Linked DNA regions of Homo sapiens: all the other regions are linked to region 1. The links are contacts of gene promoters, found by promoter capture Hi-C in blood cells and fetal thymus (Javierre and others, 2016). All regions are on one chromosome and are shown on one strand. The core of a region is centred on a gene start or on the middle of the fragment in contact, and the rest is flanking DNA. Distances in the headings are between cores, read along the strand shown. Region 1 holds the start of DBP (D-box binding PAR bZIP transcription factor). Region 2 overlaps GYS1 (glycogen synthase 1). Region 3 overlaps GYS1 (glycogen synthase 1).

The links. Contacts are between HindIII fragments. The CHiCAGO score rates a contact against its expected background, and 5 or more counts as called.
Region 2: a contact is called between a fragment that was not itself captured here and the fragment with the promoter of DBP in region 1, in 1 of 17 cell types (endothelial precursors). The highest score is 5.4, in endothelial precursors.
Region 3: a contact is called between a fragment that was not itself captured here and the fragment with the promoter of DBP in region 1, in 5 of 17 cell types (M0 macrophages, endothelial precursors, naive CD4 T cells and 2 more). The highest score is 7.4, in M0 macrophages.

What each region holds. Positions count from the first base shown.
Region 1 is chr19:48,635,358-48,639,495 of GRCh38, forward strand. It overlaps DBP (D-box binding PAR bZIP transcription factor), which reads right to left and starts at 2,022. Exons shown (of 4, transcript NM_001352.5): 1 at 1,499-2,022; 2 at 223-633. The coding sequence starts at 1,637. It overlaps CA11 (carbonic anhydrase 11), which reads right to left. Exons shown (of 9, transcript NM_001217.5): 7 at 3,948-4,102; 8 at 3,531-3,696; 9 at 2,589-2,787. The coding sequence ends at 2,762. It also overlaps the pseudogene SEC1P. RefSeq lists silencers at 84-393, 514-573, 1,610-1,729, 1,960-2,069, 2,240-2,459 and an enhancer at 3,070-3,239. The HindIII fragment of the contact is 6,625 bases long and covers 1-4,138 here.
Region 2 is chr19:48,986,298-48,990,435 of GRCh38, forward strand. GYS1 (glycogen synthase 1) reads right to left here. Exons shown (of 16, transcript NM_002103.5): 3 at 897-1,088. Among named protein-coding and RNA genes, the nearest start is that of GYS1, 4.9 kb to the right of the region's middle. RefSeq lists a silencer at 2,155-2,337 and an enhancer at 3,468-3,859. The HindIII fragment of the contact is 1,888 bases long and covers 509-2,396 here.
Region 3 is chr19:48,968,220-48,972,357 of GRCh38, forward strand. GYS1 (glycogen synthase 1) reads right to left here. Exons shown (of 16, transcript NM_002103.5): 13 at 2,709-2,804; 14 at 2,327-2,490; 15 at 1,556-1,636; 16 at 1-1,392. The coding sequence ends at 1,069. Among named protein-coding and RNA genes, the nearest start is that of FTL, 5.0 kb to the left of the region's middle. RefSeq lists enhancers at 110-339, 2,105-2,632 and a cis regulatory region at 2,609-3,129. The HindIII fragment of the contact is 5,397 bases long and covers 1-4,138 here.

The sequences.
Region 1 (4,138 bases), core at 772-3,271:
GGAATTTAGGGTTCCAAGTCTCTCCTCCCCCATGGATCCATTGGTCCCTGACCCATTAAGAGACACCGAATCTGGCCCCCTCCCACGACACCTCTCGACAACTGGACACAGAATTCGAGGCCGCAGCCAGGTCCCACGGTCCCAGCCCCCAGCGTCGCACAGCCCCGCCCCCTGAGTCCAAGCCCCGCCCCGTCAGGACCCGCCCCGCCCCCTTCGCCGCACCTGCGCGGTGGCCGCTGGCGGTCCCGAGGGCAGCCCGGGCGGGGGCGTGCCCAGGAGAGGAGCGGGGGGAAGCCGAGCCGCACGAACCCGGCCCTGGGGAGGGTGCGGGCGTCCGCGCGGGCGACGGCTCCGGCGACGGGCCACCGGGGGGCGGCGGGCTGGGCGGGAGCCCGTGCTCCAGCAGGAAGGCGTCCAGGTCTACGTACTCCACATCGCCGAACGGCAGCGTGCGCTCCCACAGCAGTGGCGCCAACAGACCCGGGGCGGGCACCGGCCCCGGGCGCCCCCGCGGGGACCCTCCGCCCACCACTGCCCCAGCCGGGGCATCCGCCGGGCCCGCAGTCTCCAGGCCTGGCCCAGGGGTTGTGGCTGCAGGCAGGGCCGCCTTGCGCTCCTTTTCCTTCAGGAGACCTGCGGGCCGGGAAAGACGGGTTGGGATGAGGGTGAGGTGGGGGAGATAGAGATGGAGAAGAGACCCCGAGTCCGAGAGGCACAGGGCGGAGATCCAGAGAAAGAGGGGACGGGGGGTCGGAGAGGAGAGACGGGAGAAAAAGGGACGGAGACGCAGAGTGGGAGAGAGACCCAGAAAGAATGGAGACGGGGGTGGCAGAGACAGGTGGACAGATTCACAGAGATGGGGACAGAATGCCGGGAAGGAATAGACACACAGAAAGACAGCGAACCAGAGAAAGAGAGACGGAAGTTCAGGAATAGGGGGGCAGGGACAGGGTAGGTGGAGGGTTGGGCAGGTGAGAGAAAAAATGACAGCTCTGTAATTTCACTGTAATTACCCAACCCCCATCCCCTGCGCGCTGTACCCCCTTCCCCTCCCCCACCATCTGTAAGGGGCAGGAAGGGGCTCTATTCCTGGGGCACATCCCTCATCCCTAGACTCCATGTGACCCCATGACGCCCCGCCCAAGCCCGTGTCACCACCGTGTGAGCACCCGACACACCCCCTCCCTGGGACCCCAGGGGTCCAGACTCCCGGACCAAAAGGAAGAGGAGGCTGGGGCCTACACTCTTGTGAACTAAGCGGGGAGGACGTTGGGGACGTTGGTGCCTGGGTCCTTAGGGTGGACGGGCTTCAGAGCCGGCGCTTTTGGGTCCTGGGCGCTAAGGGATCTAGGGGCCTAAACACCTGAGTAATTGAGTAGATTAAGGTTGGGAAGATGGACTCCCCGCACGCAGGTTTCTATGGGACCCCACCCCACGGCACCTGAGTCCCTAAGGGGGTAGGGTGTCCGAAGTGGGTGAGATGGGGGTTAGAACTCACAGCTGGCCGGCTCTTTGGGCTTGCTGGTCCCCTGCAGAAGGCTCCGCAACCCAAGCAGCGCTCCCCCGCCAGGGGGTGTCCCGGCCGGGCCGCCCAGCAGCAGAGGGGCCGGGGTCCTGTCGCTCACAGGCCGCGCCATCGCCTGGCACCTGCCCCCAGGCTCACGGGTTCATGGAGAGGCGAAGGGCTGGCCTGCCAGTCACCAGCACACTCCAGTGGTTTGGACGAGTGTCTGCCCAGGGGCGGGCGAGTGTAGCCTGCAACCCTCCAGTATCCAGAACGCTGCAAATCCTAGGAGCGACGGGGATTTGAGGTCCTCGGTGCAGAAACGTGCAACTCAAGAGGGTCCCGGGAGATCATGCAATCTGGGCGAGGGGGTGTCCAGATCAAGCGGTCGGCTCTTTGCAACCGAGGGTGAGAGGGGACTCAAGGCGCTCCTTCTACAAGGTGGGCGAGCCTGGCTCTTGCAAAATCTGCAGCTCTCGCAACGGAAGGCGCTTTGCAATCTGCACCGAGAGGTGTGCGCGGAGGGGCGGAGGAGGGGGCAGGAGGAGGCGGCCGCCTTGAGGCGTGGCCAAAGCAAACTTCTTTCGCGGAAAAAAAAATCCAAACCAAAACACCCGACGCCACAGCGCGCGCCCCTCCTCCGGGTCCCCGCCCGGCGCGTCCAGCCCCGCCAGCCTCTATGGGCATGCAACCCAGCCGCGTGCCTCCCTCCGGCTGCAAACACGGACCAATCGTCTCCGACACCTTGAGACGCACAGCCAATGGGGCCTCTGGGTCCGCCAGGGCCCAGGAGGGCGCGTGAGGGGCTCAGCGCGTGAAGTTGCCTTGCCTTTCGGTGGGAGGCGGGACACTGACCTACATTTGCCCAATGGGAGGCGGTACTGGGGGGCGGGACCGTGACCCAGTTTGGGCCAATGAGGCAGGCGGGAGGGGGAAGCACATGGCTCTGCTCGTGCTGCCTGATGGCGAGGGGGGTGATGGGGGGAAAAGGGGCGCCGCTTAAAGGGGCCGCGGTCCTAAAGATGGTTTTGAGAAGCAGGAAGCCAAAATACCGAGAGCGGAGGTTTAGAAAGAGGAAGATTGGTTTCCGGAAGAAGTCTGTTCTTTAATACCCAAATGTTTCCCCACCGCGCCTAGAATCAGACCACTGAGAAAACAGGAAGTATTCTGTCCCTTTAATAGCTTTGTTTTAGGGGTAACTCCCCTCGCCTTGTGGGGAGGCTTAGGACGGGCGGGTGCAATCCTCGAAGGGGAGTCTCAGCGACCATGGGGGACACCATCCACTGTAAGACAGAGAACAACGGCAGGGGGCGTCAGTATAGGATGGAAGGGGCGGGGGGTGTGCAGGGGGCGTGGGCTGCGCCGCGCTGGGCCCTACCGTCGGAAGTCTGCGAGCGGGGAACCAGAATGTACTAGGTCGAGAAGCACTGGGCTGAACCACAAGAAGCCAATAGGAGGGGGGAATCGGGACGTCCAGATTCAGCAGTAGGCTGAACTACTTGAAGGTCTTCATGGGGGGGGGGGGGTGTGGACTGTACCATGTTGCGAAGCCGGGGGTGTGTGAGATTCCTGGGCTAAACCACAGGGAGGCAGAGGTGGAGGGAAGGGGTTGTACCTTGTAGATTCTCAGTAAGGGGGAAGGGAGCATCAGATTGTGGAACAGCGTAAGGTAGTACGACTTGGAAAGGGAGAGAGGATCCAAATTGTACCATTTTGGAAATTCACAGTAATAGGAAGCACAGAACAGTAGGTAATTGGACCATAGGAAGGCAGGGGTCAAGGGTTATAGACCAAGTTACAAAGCAGTGAAGAGGAAAGACAAATCGTGGGCTAGCAATGGCCTAGGGCTGGCAGGTGGACTGTACCACATAGACATGTAGGGAAAGAGAGAAAAAGAGACAGCTCACGAGGCTAGACCATATAGACGCAGGAAGGAGGATGGGACTGAATCACACTGAGACACCAAGGGGAGACACATATAAGAGGGTTAGCCCAAGACTTAGAGGGGGTGCAGACTGGACCATACCATGCAGGCGGTAGTTGGGGCCTCGGCAGCGCCTCTCGGGGTGCCGGGGGTCCCTGTTGCCCCTCAGTGCCCTGTGGGCCAAGGGCTGCAGGGGCCGGCTGTTACCGCTGAGGCTCTGGAAGATCTGAGATGGAGGATTCTGGCTCAGGAGTCTCAGGGAGTGCATCTGCAGTGGAAGGAGGGTGGGAAACTGGGAGTGAATAGTGAATGGTCTTGGTGACGTCACGCAGGAAACCCCGCCCCTGGGAGCAGGTGGGCGGGGTCTGTTCTCAGCCCCACCCACCCCCAAGGTGGTCTGACCCTCTTACCTACTTGAGTTCAGTCTATGAGGAGAGGGAGGGCAGGTGAGCAAGGGGATGCCCAGGCCAGTGAGTGGAGTACCCAGGCCTAGGAAGGGCGGTGCGGACAGAGGGTCACCTGAAGGGAGGTGATATTGAGGGCCCGGTCAATGAGGATCCAGGTGACAGTCTCGGAGCAGGGCGGGGTGCTGAGAGAGCCCTGATAGGTGATGAAGCCGAAGGATTCAGGGAACAGGAGCTCCAGGCTCAGGTCTTGAAGAAAGTAGGCATCATCTGCGGGAATATCAGGCCAGAGTAAAGAGGGATGGC
Region 2 (4,138 bases), core at 203-2,702, 350 kb after region 1:
GTCCTGGCAGGGTTAGATTGGACAGACTGAAGTTTTCATGTTCCCAGGTCCTGGACATAGTTTCCAAAGACCCCTTGTCTCAAGGGTACGCTGTCTGCACCCAACATTGGCAAAGGGACTACAACTCCCAGAATGCCATAGGAGCAGCCAGTTCCTCAATTATTTGTCCCAGGGCATGAGAAATTAAGCTTCTTTTTTTTTTTTTCTTTTTCTTTTTTTTTTTGAGACAGTGTCTCACTCTGTGGCCCAGGCTGGAGTGCCGTGATGCAATCTCAGCTCACTGCAATTCCCGCCTCCCAGGTTCAAGCAATTCTCCTGTCTCAGCCTCCCAAGTAGCTGGGATTTGGGATTACAGGTGCCCACCACCACACCCAGCTAATTTTTTTGTATGTTTAGTAAAGACGAGGTTTGGCCATCTTGAACTCCTGGCCTCACGTGATCTTCCCCCATCGGCCTCCCAAAGTGCTGGGATTACAGGCATGAGCCACCGTGCCCAGCCTGGAAACTAAGCTTCTTGAGCCTCTTAAAACCTAGAAGGGGGTCAAAACCAGGTCAGGCTGGGGATTCATGAGCATCCAGGGCAGCATCTGAGAGCTGAGTCCAGCAATATCACACTAGAGAACTACAACTCCTAGAATTCCTCGGGCAAGCCCGCCAGCCTCACTTTGAGGCTGATTCCAAGAATCCCTATGCTTGGAAGACTAGAGTAAATGAAGTTGGCATCGAGAGTAGAGCCTGGGCCCTTGGATGTTCATGTCCTCAAAGGCCAGAGCTAATCCTTGGATTAAAGGACCCTATGACTCCCAGAATGCCCAGGGAGAAGCCCATCCTCTGGCCCAGGGGCTGATGGTCATTGTAGTTTCAGGTATGGGTGGAATGTGTCAGACGGGGCCTACCTCACCCAGGAACCAGGTGGTCAGAAAGCCAAAGAGGACAGCGTCGTTGGCCTCGCGGTCGTACCACGGCACTCCGATGTTGCAGGTATCCCAGAGCTCTCCCTTCCAGCGCTCCAGGGCCCAAGCTGAGGCACCCACGTCCAGGAGCACCACCAGAGGGCCTCCCTCGATCAGCCAGCGCCCGAAATACACCTGGGATGGGGTTGGGGAGGCACCATAGGGAGGCTCTGGGCTTCAGCCTCATATCTTCACTCATCCGTGGTTCTCCCATTTGCAGGCAGATGTCTATAGACTTAAGCCTCAGCTCTCTTATCTTCTGTTTCCATATCTGCTGCTAATTTCTCACCTGCTGCCTTAGCCTTACTTCTCTATTTGCATGATTTATTCCTGCTACACATTTTTTCCATCTCTGTTGCAATATTTTCCGTGCCCCCTGCTTACTTTCTTTCTTTCTTTTTTTTGAGATGGAGTCTCACTCTGTGGCCCAGGCTGGAGTGCAGTGGTGCGATCTCAGCTCACTGCAACCTCTGTCTCCCGGGTTCAAGCAATTCTCCTGCCTCAGCCTCCCAAGTAGCTGGGATTACAGGCACCCGCTCCCACACCTGGCTAATTTTTTTTTTTTCTTGAGACGGAGTCTGGCTCTGTTGCCCAGGCTGGAGTGCCGTGGCATGATCTCGGCTCACTGCAACCTCTGCCTCCTGGGTTCACACCATTCTCCTGCCTCAGCCTCCCGAGTAGCTGGGACTACAGCGGCCCGCCACCACGCCCGGCTACTTTTTTTTGTATTTTCAGTAGAGACGAGGTTTCACTGTGTTAGCCAGGATGATCTCCATTTCCCGACCTTGTGATCCGCCCGCCTCGGCGTCCCAAAGTGCTGGGATTACAGGCGTGAGCCACCGCACCCAGCCTCCTGTTTAATTCCTGTAACTGCTACCCTTCTCCCACTCGCTGCCTCCTTTCTCTGCTTATAACCACATATGTCACATGTCCTGTGTCTATGCCCCCACTGCCCTGTCTGGCCACTCTGCAAATCATTTCCCCTACCTGCTGCCTTGTTTCTGTACTTGCTGCCACATTTCTCTTACCAACCATCTGCATCTCCCACTGTCTTTTCTTTCTGATGCTAATTCCTTCCACGGGATGCTTCTTTTTTGTTTTCAGACAGGGTCTCGCTCTGTTGCCCAGGCTGGAGTGCAGTGGTGTGAACATGGTTCACTATAGCCTCAACCTCCCTGGCTCAGTCAATCCTCCCACCTCACCTCCTACAGGCGTGGGCCACCATGCCAGGCTGATTTTTTAATTTTTTGTGGAGATGGGGTCTCACTATGTTGCCCAGGCTGATCGTGAACTCCTGCGTTCAAGCAGTTTTCTTGCTTAGCCTCCCAAAGTGTTGAGATTAGAAGTGTGAGCCACCTAAAGCAGGCCCTTTTTTATTTTCAGAGACGGGGTCTTGCTCTGTCCTCCAGCCTGGAAGGGAGTGGTGCAATTACGGTTCACTGAAGCTTCGATCTCCCAGGCTCAAGCAATCCTTCCACCGCAGCTTCCCACGTAGCTGGGACCACAGGCACAAGGTATCACATCCCGGCTAATTTTTAACTTTTTTGTAAGGACAGGGTTTCACCATGTTGCCCAGGCTGGTCTCAAACTCCTGGCCTCAGCCTACCAAAGTGCTGGGATTACAGGCGTGAGCTACTGCACCCAGCCTGTAATGATTCTCTTACTGTTCATGCTGCCACTTTTCTTCCCCATGATGCCTTGTTTCTGTTCCTTTCATCACATATCTGTCACCTGCGACCTCTTTCCTCTATCCATAGGCCCATTTTGTAGTCCACAGCCTCCTTCCTTCCTTCCTTGCTTCCTTCCTTCCTTCCTTCCCTCTCTCCCTCCTTCCCTCCCTCTCTCCTTTTTCTTTCTTTCTTCCATTTTTTTTTGTTTGTTTTTGTTTTTGACAGGGTCTCACTCCGGTCACCCAGGCTGGAGTGCAGTGGTGCAATCATGGCTCACTGGGCTGGGCGCGGTGGCTCACGCCTGTAATCCTAGCTCTTTGGGGGGCCGAGGCGGGCGGATTGCCTGAGCTCAGGAGTTTGAGACCAGCCTGGGCAACATGGTGAAACCCTGTCTCTACTAAAATACAAAAAATTAGCCGGGCGTGGCAGCATGTGCCTGAGGTCCCAGCTACTTGGGAGGCCGAGGCAGGAGAATTGCTTGAACGCGGGAGGCGGAGGTTGCAGTGAGTCGAGATTGTACCACTGCACTCCAGACTCAGCGACAGAGTGAGATTCTATCTGAAAAAAAAAAAAAAAAAATTATGGCTCACTACAGCCTCCACATCCCATCCTCCCACCTCAGCCTCCTGAGTAACTGGGATCACGAGCACGCACCATCATGCCTGGCTAATTTTTTGTATTTTTAGTAGAGACAGAGTTTCGCCATGTTGCCCAGGTGGGTCAGGAACTCCTGGGCTCAAGCTATCCTCTCACCTCGGCCTCCCAAAGTGCTGGGATTCCAGGCATGAGCCACCGCCCTCGGCCACGCCACACATTTCTAACATAGCCCATCCTCTGTCCGTGCCCCAGGGCTGCATTTTTCTAGCCACTGCCGTGTTTCTAAGACTTGCTGTCTCACTTCTGCCTCTGCCACATTTCTCCAGTTGGCTGTTTTCCTCCCTGAGACCATGGCTTTGGTTCTGGGCCTGCTGCCACAGCAGTGGAGAAGCAGCCCCGCTCCTCGCCGACCTGGCTTTTTGCTGCCTGGAGCCTCGCTCTGAGGTCCCTCCCCCTCCCAGCTGTTGTCTGCCCTTTTGCTGGGGGGGGGGGGGGGCTATTCTTAGGCCCCCAGCACGTGGGAAGCAGCTGCCCTCAGGAAGCGACTGGGCTGTTCTGGGTTCCCTTAGGGACACAGTCGGACCTGAATGGATTCCAGACCCCACCCCAAACCAGAGGCTGTGAATGAGTAAAGGAACCACAGTGCCTCTCCATCCCCAGCCTGGACCTGTCTGTCCCTTAGCCCTGCCGCCTGATGGCTTTCTCCTTGGACAACAGCGTGCCGCCTGATGGCTTTCTCCTTGGACAACAGCGTGTCTCTTTCCGTCTTCACCCTGGGGCCCTGGAACTCCCCCTCCTCTCTAATCCCTGATCTGCCCATCTCAGACTCTGTCCTGTGGGTCTGTCCACTGACCTCTCCTCTCTTCCCCGATATTCCATGCTTCTCTCTCCTTCTAGGACTGGCTTTCTGAAACATCT
Region 3 (4,138 bases), core at 1,051-3,550, 330 kb after region 1:
CGGTGCAGACACAGCACAGCACACATGAGGGGCCCTCCCTTTCACCAAAGCTGAAGGCAGGGCACAGTTTGGGGATGGAAGAGCCTCGAGGTAAATGTGGGGGTTCTAGAACCCAGTGACCTCAGTTCTGGATCATGGGAAAGGGATCAGTATGCAGTAACGTGGTAAGGTTCCAGATCTAGAAGCCAGGACCTAGAACCTAGTGGTTTCACAGTGGGCAGAGCAGTTGGGAATAAGCCAGGTTAGGGGTGGGGGAAGACAGCCAGCTCTGTCCTCTGCAGGCGGATTCCCTGGAGGGAGATCTCAGATTTAGAAAGGAAGAGTAGGATCTGGTCCAGAAAGGGCCAGAAAGACAGGAAGGCATCTGGACTGAGACTGTGTGTCCTCCAGAAGGAATGAGCAGCCAAGTGGTTCTACCACCTCTTGCTTGGCCAAAGTGTAGGGGATGACAGGAGCCGGATGGAGGGATCCTCCAGGCAGAGCCTGGCTCTGACATGCCAGGGAGGGCTAGAACATCCCTCCCAGAGCCCCACTTCTGGAGTTGAAATGGAGGACCATCTGCTCTCAGTTACCTTCAAACTCTGAAAGTGCCCCGGCTCTGGACTTGATCGCCCCATTCGCAGGGACACCACGTGGTTTCCAGAACTTGGTGGCCCGCATGCCGGGCCTGAGCGTGGCCTGCTCTGTATGCTGTAGAATTTGTAAGCCACACGGGGGGCTCTAAAAGCCCCAGACCTGAAAGCACCATGCCAGGTTTCCTAAAACCTCTGGCACCACCGCAGAGTAATGGCAGATTCCTGGCCTCTGGGAAGCGGTCCAGGCCCAGGGGACTCCAGGGCGCTGATTATGCATATTCTGGAGCCAGAGAAAGGCACGGCTTTGTGGATTCTGGAGTGCAGGAACTTGGAAACTGGAGCTGGAGGGGGTGGAGTGTTTGGCGGACTGGGTGGGGGCACTGCGGGGCCACACCCAGTGCAGATCTGGAGCGGGGGTTTAGGAGCAGCACCCCTCTGCATCCTCTCTCTGGAGCAGAGAGGCAGGACAGGCGGGGAGTGTGGTGGGGCGGACTTAGTTACGCTCCTCGCCCAGGGAGCTGGTGGGGCTGAGGGGCTCGCTCGGGGTGCTGAGTGAGCTGGAGGTGGCCGTGTCCACAGAGTTGCGCTTGCTGCCGCTGGTGGAGGAGGTGCAGGACGCTCGGCGCGGCCACTCTGGTGCACGGATGTTGCGCCGGTCCTTGGCGGCCTCCTCGTCCTCATCGTAGCGCTCGCCGTCTTCCTCCAGCGGCCCGTTCCGGGGATCCTCCTCGTCCTCACTCTGGTGCGGGCTGGAGTGTCGTGACAGCGAGGGCGACGGTGGCACCGAGGCTGGCCGTGGGTAGCGGTACCCCTGGGCCTGCATACGGCGATGTGGGTGCAAACCAGGGTGAGCTGAGGACCTCACAGTCCCACCCAGGCATCCAGCCACCTCTAGGCCTTCCCACTCCAGGAGGGACCCCCACCCCACCGAAGCCCAGCCCTTTAGCTCCTGGCTAAGCAGAAATCCAGGGTCCACTCACCGCATCCGCCTCGTTGGGCTCGTAGGTGAAGTGCTCTGGAAAGGCCTTGGACAGCGCCATGTGGCGCGCAGACATATAGTACTAGGGGAAAGGAGGAGAGGGGGCAGAGGATGTGAGAGCCAGGCCCCACCCCCAGGCAGATGATGGGGGTCTTGGCCACACCCTTTATGCAGATGAGCACACTGCTGCACCCCATACAAATAATCCATCTATCTGACTCCACCCCTTATGTAGATAAGCAGACCTGTGAATGGACAGTTTCTGAGCCATACCCCTCAAACAGGGGCCGAATTCTCAAGTGAGTCTCCTCTTTGGCCACACCCTTATGCAAATGAGAACGCCTGACCAATGTTCTTTTTTTCTTTTTAAACACGGTCTTGTTCTGTTACTCTAGGATGGAGTGCAGTGGGTTTGAACAAGGCTCACTGCAGCCTCAACCTCCGGGGCTCAAGCGACCCTACCACCTCAGCCTCCCCAGTAGCTGGGACTACAGGCACGCACCATCACGCTCGGCTGATTTTTTTTTATTTTTAGTAAAAATAAAATGTTGCCCAGGCTGGTCTCTTAACTCCTGAGCTCATGCGATCCTTCCTGTTAGGCCTCCCAAAGTGCTGGGATTACAACCATGAGCCACCATCGCGATCGGCCTGGTTCATTGCTTAAAGGGACAGCAACTGTTACAAGTAGGATGAGACCCTGCACCCTGCACCAAAGACCCCTAGCCAGGAGCTGCTGATTTGCCAGGAGAGGATAGGAAAGTGGGGGTCCTACCCGGCCTAGGTATTTCCAGTCCAGAAGGTCGGAGAGGCGCTCCGTGCGGTTCCGCTGGATGATACGCTGCCGCCGGCTCTGCTGACAGAAACTGTAGAGGAAGGAGGTGAGCTGCGAGCAGGAATCATCCAGGCTGCGGAACCGCCGGTCAAGAATGTAGATACCTGTGGAGGCCAGGACCCAGGTTCAGAAAACATCCTGGGGAGATCTTCATGGTCTCCAGGACTCTGTGGCACCAGGACCCCTCCTCTCCCAGCGGCCCGAGAGCCCCCCCATTTCCTGGTGCCCCTGGTCTCCAAGGGTGCAAGCTCCTCCTTCCCAGGATCCAGGAGTCACTGTTCTCAAGCCCCCTTCCAGAATCCTCAGGGGCCTGGGCGCTGACCGTAAGCTGAGGGGTCTGCGATGTGTTCCTCCATGAAGCAGCCGAAGCCGGAGAGATTGGTGGAGATACTGGGGATTCCCATAACCGTGCACTCAGCTGCGGGAAGGCAGGAGAGAGACCCACTTAGCTTCCCTCATCGCCTACCGTCTTAATCGCAATAGACGCCTCAACACCGCCCTCTACTGGCGCCTGTACCAAGTGCCAGGCGCTGTGCGGAGCGTCGCTGAGCCCCCACAACCAGGCTGTGCATTTCCCTATTTCTCAGAGGGGACGCTAAGAGGCTCAGAAAAGAGAATTACTTGCTCTTGCTCCAAGATGCGGGAAAGTCCATAGTTGGGAGATAAGGATGCTAATTTATTGAGCATCCCAATATCCATTTGACTTAACTCTCACAACCTGTAGGATCGGGCCAAGGTCCATCATTCTACTTAATTGTCACAACCTGTAAGATCCTTTCTTGTGCCAGTATCTTGTACGGACTTAGTCTATTTTGATGGGGGGTAAGATAAGGTCTCTCATTATTAGTATCCCTGTGTACAGAGCATCTAGTACGTCTTGTTTAATACCTTTAACAACCTTGAGAAATAGTTCAAGGAATGTATTATAATTTTTTGATGGATTTTTATGCTTTTTTTTTTTTCTTTCGAGACAGGGTCTCACTCTGTCACCCAAGCTGTAGTGCAGTGGCACAATCTCGGCTCACTGCAACCTTCACCTCCCGGGTTCAAGCGATTTTCGTGCCTTAGCCACCCGAGTAGCTGGGACTACAGGCACACACCACCATGCCCAGTTAATTATTGTATTTTTTAGTATAGACAGGGTTTCACCATGTTGGCCAGGCAGGTCTTGAACTCCTGACCTCAGGTGATCCATCCGTCTTGGCTTCCCAAAGTGGTCAAATTATAGGTGTGAGCCACTGCGCCTGGCCCAATGCTTTTTTTTTTTTTTTCTCGAGACAAGGTCTCACTTTATCACCCAACCTGGAGGACAGTGGCTTGATCATAGCTCACTGCAGCCTTGACCTCCTAGGCTCAAGCAATCCTCCCACCTCAGCCACCCAAGAGGCTGGGACTACGAGCACACAACACTACGCATGGCTAATTAAAAATAAAAAAAAAAAAGGCCGGGCACGGTGGCTCATGTCTGTAATCCCAGCACTTTGGGAGGCCAAGGCGGGTGGATCACGAGGTCAAGAAGAGAAAAAAAAAAAAACCATCCTGGCCAACATGGTGAAACCCTGTGTCTAATAAAAATACAAAAATTAGCTGGGTGTGGTGGCAGGCGCCTATAGTCCCAGCTACTCTGGAGGCTGAGGCAGGAGAATCACTTGAACCCGGGAGGCGGTTGCAGTGAGCCAAGACTGTGCCACTGCACTCCAGCCTGGCAATAGAGCAAGACTCTGTCTCAAAAAAAAAAAAAAATCTTTTATA